Regions from separate parts of the Homo sapiens genome. Here regions 2 and 3 are each linked to region 1. The links are contacts of gene promoters, found by promoter capture Hi-C in blood cells and fetal thymus (Javierre and others, 2016). All regions are on one chromosome and are shown on one strand. The core of a region is centred on a gene start or on the middle of the fragment in contact, and the rest is flanking DNA. Distances in the headings are between cores, read along the strand shown. Region 1 holds the start of ARSA (arylsulfatase A). Region 2 holds the start of PPP6R2 (protein phosphatase 6 regulatory subunit 2). Region 3 holds the start of DENND6B (DENN domain containing 6B).

What was found. The method cuts DNA at HindIII sites, captures the fragments that hold promoters and counts their contacts. A CHiCAGO score of 5 or more calls a contact.
Region 2: the fragment with the promoter of PPP6R2 here is called in contact with the fragment with the promoter of ARSA in region 1 in 12 of 17 cell types (neutrophils, activated CD4 T cells, M0 macrophages and 9 more); the score reaches 8.8 in neutrophils.
Region 3: the fragment with the promoter of DENND6B here is called in contact with the fragment with the promoter of ARSA in region 1 in 4 of 17 cell types (neutrophils, M1 macrophages, naive CD8 T cells and 1 more); the score reaches 7.7 in neutrophils.

The regions. Positions count from the first base shown.
Region 1 is chr22:50,626,902-50,629,601 of GRCh38, reverse strand. It overlaps ARSA (arylsulfatase A), which reads left to right and starts at 1,450. Exons shown (of 8, transcript NM_000487.6): 1 at 1,450-2,046; 2 at 2,196-2,436; 3 at 2,550-2,700. The coding sequence starts at 1,823. RefSeq lists a silencer at 1,366-1,555 and an enhancer at 2,490-2,700. The HindIII fragment of the contact is 2,215 bases long and covers 1,021-2,700 here.
Region 2 is chr22:50,342,047-50,344,746 of GRCh38, reverse strand. It overlaps PPP6R2 (protein phosphatase 6 regulatory subunit 2), which reads right to left and starts at 1,420. Exons shown (of 24, transcript NM_001242898.2): 1 at 1,197-1,420. RefSeq lists silencers at 1,160-1,239, 1,250-1,529, 1,800-1,969 and an enhancer at 2,066-2,700. The HindIII fragment of the contact is 9,108 bases long and covers 1-2,413 here.
Region 3 is chr22:50,325,719-50,328,418 of GRCh38, reverse strand. It overlaps DENND6B (DENN domain containing 6B), which reads left to right and starts at 1,407. Exons shown (of 20, transcript NM_001001794.4): 1 at 1,407-1,607. The coding sequence starts at 1,431. RefSeq lists a silencer at 1,019-1,658. The HindIII fragment of the contact is 18,876 bases long and covers 427-2,700 here.

The DNA.
Region 1 (2,700 bases), core at 201-2,700:
TCGGAAGCTTATATACCATCTTGAGGTTACAGAAAGAACATGGGCTCAAAGTATGGCCACAGTTTATGGTGGAAAATCAGGTGACCAGTGGCAAGACCGGTTACAGGAGGGAGAGCAGAGGAGGCCTGGCTAGCAAAGGTGGCCTTGTTCTACAGATGAAACCTCACAGGTAGCAGCCCTGAGAGAGAACAGATGGTGAATGTTCCCTTCAGGCCTTTAAAGGCGTCAGACTGTTACTCTTCCCAGATCAGGCAAGGAGGGCCTCAGAGGAGGCCTGGCCGCATCAGTGTAGATTCTCTCCACAGATGCAAATCTCCCCCACAAAAGACAGCTTTTCAGCTATTCTTCTATTTCCAGTCCTTCTGAGTAACTGTCTTGAACCGTGTCAAGGAAATATATTTGGAGGTGACATATTGTGTTTTCCTTCAAGATCAAAAAGGTTAAGTCCAAGGCTGCCCAACGAGGGAGCGAGGACCCAATCACGTTGTCCTCAGATGAGTTTTTCCCCAGCAGCGTAACCCTGCAACAGGCCAGACTGGACCCCAGACACACATTCCACACCACACCACGCCTCCACCACCACACGCACACAACAGACACACCCTAAACACCAGACACACACACACACCTCAACCACCGCAAACACACATACGCCACACCTCTAACACCACACACACCCAACACCACACACATACGTGCCTCAAACACTACACACACCTCAACCACCATACACCTCAACCACACACACCCCTCAAACACCAAACACACCCCTCAACCACACACACACACCCCTCAAACACCACACACCCACCTCAAACACCACACACACATATCCCTCAAACACTACAAAAACACACACACACACCTCAAACACCACACATGCACACACACCTGAAACACCACACACCTGCCTCAAACACTCCACACACACCACACACAGACACGTACACAGCCCCCCGCACCCAGCCACAGCTTACACGCACACAGACACGCGTACGCAGGAGAAAGGGTGTCAAAGCTTTTGCTAGTCGTGAAGGAAGAGCCCGCAGTCCATGGGGCTGCACGGTTTTCCCTGCCATTTGCTCATTCACCGGGTGCCCATAACGCTCCGCGCTCAGGTCTCTTACAGGAGGGCCCGAGTCTCCCAGTACCGGAGGTCTGGGGGCGCACGAGCCGCTCCTCCTCTGGAGAAGCTCCGGACCGAGAGGACACCGGACACTGCGCAGCGCCGAGCCCCGCGCGCAGCCCGGGACGCCTCAGCCAGGGCCGACCGCGCAGAGGAAGCTCCCAGAGCCCGTTTCAAGACCGCAGCCAACAGCCTCAGGCGCACACGGCGGCCTCGGAGCGAGCACGCGCAGCAACGCCCCTCGCCCCGGCCCGCCCCCGGCCCCGCCCCCGGCCCCGCCCCCGGCCCCGCCCCGCAAGGGTCACAGGTCACGGGGCGGGGCCGAGGCGGAAGCGCCCGCAGCCCGGTACCGGCTCCTCCTGGGCTCCCTCTAGCGCCTTCCCCCCGGCCCGACTCCGCTGGTCAGCGCCAAGTGACTTACGCCCCCGACCCTGAGCCCGGACCGCTAGGCGAGGAGGATCAGATCTCCGCTCGAGAATCTGAAGGTGCCCTGGTCCTGGAGGAGTTCCGTCCCAGCCCGCGGTCTCCCGGTACTGTCGGGCCCCGGCCCTCTGGAGCTTCAGGAGGCGGCCGTCAGGGTCGGGGAGTATTTGGGTCCGGGGTCTCAGGGAAGGGCGGCGCCTGGGTCTGCGGTATCGGAAAGAGCCTGCTGGAGCCAAGTAGCCCTCCCTCTCTTGGGACAGACCCCTCGGTCCCATGTCCATGGGGGCACCGCGGTCCCTCCTCCTGGCCCTGGCTGCTGGCCTGGCCGTTGCCCGTCCGCCCAACATCGTGCTGATCTTTGCCGACGACCTCGGCTATGGGGACCTGGGCTGCTATGGGCACCCCAGCTCTACCACTCCCAACCTGGACCAGCTGGCGGCGGGAGGGCTGCGGTTCACAGACTTCTACGTGCCTGTGTCTCTGTGCACACCCTCTAGGTAAAGAGGGGGCCGCGCCTCTTCCCCGCCCCGACCCTCCATCCCTTTCCTCCCAATGGATTGCAGGGGGGCGGGAAAAACGTCTGTCTCTCTCTCTAGGGAAGGCCACATTTCTGTCTGTCTCAGGGACTCTGTGACTTGTCCCGCAGGGCCGCCCTCCTGACCGGCCGGCTCCCGGTTCGGATGGGCATGTACCCTGGCGTCCTGGTGCCCAGCTCCCGGGGGGGCCTGCCCCTGGAGGAGGTGACCGTGGCCGAAGTCCTGGCTGCCCGAGGCTACCTCACAGGAATGGCCGGCAAGTGGCACCTTGGGGTGGGGCCTGAGGGGGCCTTCCTGCCCCCCCATCAGGGCTTCCATCGATTTCTAGGCATCCCGTACTCCCACGACCAGGTAGGAACCACCCGGGCCCTCAGCCACCCTCCCACCTCCCAAAGTCCCCCAGCCCTTGATGCTCCCGCAGCCCCACCTGCCAGCCCAGCCCTCACGGCAGCTGCCCGCCTCAGGGCCCCTGCCAGAACCTGACCTGCTTCCCGCCGGCCACTCCTTGCGACGGTGGCTGTGACCAGGGCCTGGTCCCCATCCCACTGTTGGCCAACCTGTCCGTGGAGGCGCAGCCCCCCTGGCTGCCCGGACTAGAGGCCCGCTACATGGCTT
Region 2 (2,700 bases), core at 171-2,670, 280 kb after region 1:
AACTGACTGGAGGAGGCACTGACTGGGGGGGAACTGACTGGAGGGGGCACTGACTAGGGGGAATTGACTGGAGGGGGCACTGACTGGGGGGCACTGACTGGGGGGAAACTGACTGGGGGGGCACTGACTGGGGGGAACTGACTGGAGGGGGCACTGACTGGGGGAAACTGACTGGAGGAGGCACTGACTGGGGGGAATTGACTGGAGGGGGCACTGACTGGGGGGAATTGACTGGAGGGGGCACTGACTGGGGGGCACTGACTGGGGGGAAACTGACTGGGGGGGCACTGACTGGGGGGGAACTGACTGGAGGGGGCACTGACTGGGGGAACTGACTGAAGGGGGCACTGACTGGGGGGGGAACTGACTGGAGGGGGCACTGACTGGGGGGAATTGACTGGAGGGGGCACTGACTGGGGGGCACTGACTGGGGGGCACTGACTGGGGGGAAACTGACTGGGGGGGCACTGACTGGGGGGAACTGACTGGAGGGGGCACTGACTGGGGGAAACTGACTGGAGGAGGCACTGACTGGGGGAAACTGACTGGAGGAGGCACTGACTGGGGGAAACTGACTGGAGGAGGCACTGACTGGGGGGAAACTGACTAGAGGGGGCACTGACTGGGGGGGAACTGACTAGAGGGGGCACTGACTGGGGGGGAACTGACTAGAGGGGGCACTGACTGGGGGGGGAACTGACTGGAGGGGGCACTGACTGGGGGAAACTGACTGGAGGAGGCACTGACTGGGGGAAACTGACTGGAGGAGGCACTGACTGGGGGGGAACTGACTGGAGGGGGCACTGACTGGGGGGAAACTGACTGGAGGGGGCACTGACTGGGGGGGAACTGACTGGAGGGGGCACTGACTGGGGGGCACTGACTGGGGGGAAACTGACTGGGGGGAAACTGACTGGGGGGGAACTGACTGGGGGGGAACTGACTGGAGGGGGCACTGACTGGGGGAACTGACTAGAGGGTGCACTAACTGGGGGGGAACTGACTGGAGGGGGCACTGACTGACTTGGGGGGGGCACTGACTCCGGGGGCACCGACTGGGGGGAACTGACTGGAGGGGGAACTGACTGACTGGGGGATAACTATCTGGAGGGGGCACTGACTGACTCGGGGAGAAGTGACTTGGGGGGCACTGGCAGACTGGGGGCCGGGTCTGAGCGGCGGGCGGCCGCACTCACCTGCCCTGCGGGCCGGGCGTCGCGGCAGCTCTTCGGAGGCCCGTGTGGAGGCCCGAGCGGAGGCCAGGGCGCTGGTGGAGGCAAAGCCCGGGCGGCCTCGGGCGGGCCGCACACACATGGGCCCGGCCGAGGGCGCAGCGCCTACGGACACCGGCACGGCCGGCCGGCGGCTCGAGACCGACTCGGGGCCGCGGGCGGCACTCCGATCGCTCCAAAATGGCGGCGGCGGCGCACGGGCACGCGCTCCGGGGGCGGGGTCTCCGCTTGGGGCGCGCACGCTCGCGGCCGGGGGCGGGGCCGCGCGGGTGGGCGGGGCCGGGACCTGGGCCGGCTCTCCGGGCCCCCTGGAGTGGGGCACTCGGTGAAACCCGCGTGGGAGCACGAGGGCTTGGGTGTGCTGACTGCTGCCTTGGAGTGGGTGGGGTAAGAGTGCGTCTTTCCCCTTTTACGTTTCCCTTTGAGGTATTGGCTAAAGTTTTGTGCAAGCATAGTTAATTTTGTTGTAGCCACAAAACAATCCTCGCGTGGCCCGACGCAGCATTTGAGAGACACACACCTGGGGCAGGGGTTTCCCCCGTGGCCCAGGAAAGGGCCTGTTCTCCCGGGCCTCCCTCCTGCCACAGGCCCCTCCCAGAGGCCGCGGGGCGTGGACGCCCCGAGCAGCAGGAGCGGGCTCAGCCCCGGGCGCCAGGCCTGGCCCCTCCCCGTCCCGCGTCCTGCCTGGACCCGGAGTGCCTGAGCCGCCTCCAGACAGTTTTCTCCAGGTGCGCTACGGGTTCTTGCACGGCGTTTTGCAAATTAAGTATGTGCCTATTTAACAAGTGCTGGAATTGTTTAATTCCATCAAAATAATTTCAAAAATGATTACTATTATTTCAGATGTTAGAGCGAGCCGTGGGTAAATGTTGGGAAAACATGGAGCACTTAAGGGATCTCTAAACGTTTTTTCCAGTTGTCAGTGTATTGCCCAGGATTCACCGATGCTCTCTGCGAAAGCGTATCTGGGCGGCTCAAATATTCGGTATTTCTCTTTTGCCAGCTGGCGCTGTTAGGCTTTGTCGGTAGAGGGCGCCAGAGACGTTGCAGGAGAAAAGGGCTTGGCCCTGCGGCTGGCGGCCCCGGGCTTCCCCGACGCCTGTCCCCTGCCCTGGTCAGCAGCACCCTCCTCGCCGGTTTTATAGCAGATGCCTCTGGCGAGCCTTTCCCCAGCAAAAGCTTTTCCCCTAGCATCCTAAGGGGCAGATTTCTGGCAGGTTCCGTTGAGGGAACTTCCAGGAAGTGGGGGTGAAAAAGCCTCAGCCTCACAACCTAGAGAAGAGACACCCTGCGTTCAGCAGGCTATGCCCTTCTCCTGCCCTCACCATGGTCTCCTTTGCAGGAGCGGGAGGTGCTGCTGAGTTGAGCTACGGAATGGGGACTGGGGCCAGGGGCACCAGATGCAGGAGATGCTCCTGCTGCCGTGAGCACGTGCAACTCTGCCTGATCTTGATACCCCTCCTGTGCT
Region 3 (2,700 bases), core at 158-2,657, 300 kb after region 1:
GTTTCTACCAAAAATACAGAAATTAGCCTGGCGTGGTGGTGCACGCCTGTAATTCCAGCTACTCGGGAGGCTGAGGCAGGAGAATCGCTCGAACCCAGTAGGCAGAGGTTGCAGTGAGCCAAGACCATGCCATTGCACTCCTGCCTGGGCAACAAGAGCAACATTCTGTCTCAAAAAAAACAACAGAAACAAACAAACAAAAAACAATACGGCCATGTGCTACTCAACGGTGAAGCTATGTCCTGAGAAATGTGTCATTAGGCGATTTTGTTATGTGACAAACCTAGATGGGACAGCCTACCCCACACCTAGGCCAGATGATCCGAACAACACGTGGTAATCTTTTATTTTTTTATTTTTGAGATGGAGTCTCACTCTGTCGCCCAGGCTGGAGTGCAATGGCGACATCTCAGCTCACTGCAAGCTTCGCCTCCGGGGTTCAAACGATTCTCCTGCCTCAGCCTCCCCAATAGCTGGGGTTACGGCGCTCGCCAGCCACCACGCCCGGCTAATTTTTGTATTTTCAGTAGAGACAGGGTTTCACCAGGTTGGTCTCGATTTCCTGGATTCGTGATCCGCCACCCCACCTCGGCCTCCCAAAGCGGTGAGATTACAGGCGTGAGCCACCGCGTCTGGCCAACACGTGGTAATCTGAAGGGACCACCACAGTATATGCGGCCCGCCTTCCACGGAAACGTCATGAGGCCCACGACTCAAAGGCGTGCCTCATTAAGTTACCGACAGCCCCAAACTCGCCCTTCCACGCCGGGCCTCAAGGTGCTCTGTGGACCACAGCGGGGCCCGGGGCCCTCGCGAGGGAGGGAAGAGTTCGCTCCAGGTCCCCGCGATTCCCCCGGAAAGTGAAACTGCAGAGGTGTTGCGTGGACACCCGCGGTCAGACACGACCCCAGGCCGCGCGGGCCCCAGAGGAAGCGAGCGCGAGTCCGCGGTGGTGGCTGGGCGCTCAGTGAGGACGCCATTCCGCCACGAAAACGCCCGCGACGCCGCTGGCCCCTGCGCGGTGGGGCGAGGTAGGCTGGCCGGACCTGCGAAGCCCGACGAGCCCGGCGCCGGCTGGCTGCAGCTTGCTCTGCCTCCCTGGCCTGGCCCCGAGGCTCCCGCGAGCCGGGATCCGCGAACACCGGGGCCGAACCGACTCTCTCGGGCCTCAGACGGCGTGGACCCTGGAAGGCCCCAGTTCGGCCGCTTCCCCGGAAGTCCCCCAGTGGGCTCCGGCCGCTCTGGCCCGCGCGCGTCCGGCTCGCTGGTGCCCTGGGCGGCGCCCGGCCGCTGGCGCTTCTCGGGCGCTAGGGGGCGCGCGGCCGCGCGGGAGCCGCACTGGGCCGCGGCGGCCGCTCGACTGTTCTGAGGAGCGGCCCGGACGCGCGCCGCCCCCGCCCGCGTTTCCCCGGCAACCCGCGGCCGCCGCCATGGACGCGCTGTTGGGCACAGGGCCTCGCCGGGCTCGCGGCTGCCTGGGCGCGGCTGGACCCACGTCTTCAGGTCGCGCGGCGCGGACCCCGGCGGCGCCCTGGGCGCGCTTCTCCGCCTGGCTGGAGTGTGTGTGCGTGGTCACCTTCGACCTGGAGCTGGGCCAGGCGCTGGAGGTGAGCGGGCGCGAGCGCGGGCGCGGGCGGGTGGGCAGGGCTGCGCCTCTCGGGGCCAGTCCCGCCTCGCTTGGGGCCCTCGGCCGCCCCGCACTCTCCCTGGCCTTCGGCCGCCGCCTCCTGGAGGGGCCTCTTCTCCGGGCTCCAGAAGCGCTCCCCAGGCCGAGGAGGGAAGGCGAGCTGCTCGGAGTCGGATCTTGTCTTCACATTGGGATGGAGCATTTTGCATAACCTAAGTGGTACTCTTTCGATTTTTCCCAGTAAATGTCTCACATCTCCCCCCTCCATTCCCCACCGGAGCAGTGACACCTTCATCCCCTCAGTGGCTCCCGCCAGAGTCCCGGGCTTACCCTCCGCTCCGCATCCCATCTCTGGGCATAGGCGAGGCTGACGGCTCCTTCTGCAACAAAGGTCTCGGATCCGTTCCTTTGCTGCCATCACTGATGTCATCCCCACCCCAGCTGCACCCCAGAGTTCAACCTTTGTGGCTCTCCTGCTTAAAACCCTGCAGCGCCTCCTTGTTCACCTAGCATCAGATCCAGACCCCATGGGCCCCGTCCCTCCACCTGCGTCTTGTGGTGTTCTTGCTCGTGGGGGTCTGTTCATCGGCTGTGCCCATGGGCTTTCGATGTGGTCTTTCTGCTGCCTGCAGGCCTCCACTCACCTACCCACACAGGCAGCCTCCTTTCCTCCAGGGAGGCCCCGCAGGATGATCTTCTCTGTGTCCTGTGTAACACACACCAGGGAGCTGACCAGCACAGGGGAGGCCCACCTGCAGATGGAGGGAGGCTTCCCCGCGCTGGCGCAAGGAACCTCGTGAGGGGTAGTGAGCTCTCTATTACCGCAGGTGTCCAAGATCAGGCCAAATCATCATCATCAGGAAAGCCAGGCAGCGCGTCTCTGTGGTTGGGAGATGCTTTCTAAGGCCCTGCTGAACTCCAAGAGGCCATGAGAAGCATATAGTCTTCTAAACAGAAAAGCATTAACTCTAGCACTCTCTGGAGCCCCTCCCACCACACACGGTCCCCAGCAGGTGCACAGCCTCAAACAGCATCACTGGGTGGGGGCTGAGTACCAAGAAGTGTGGTGACCT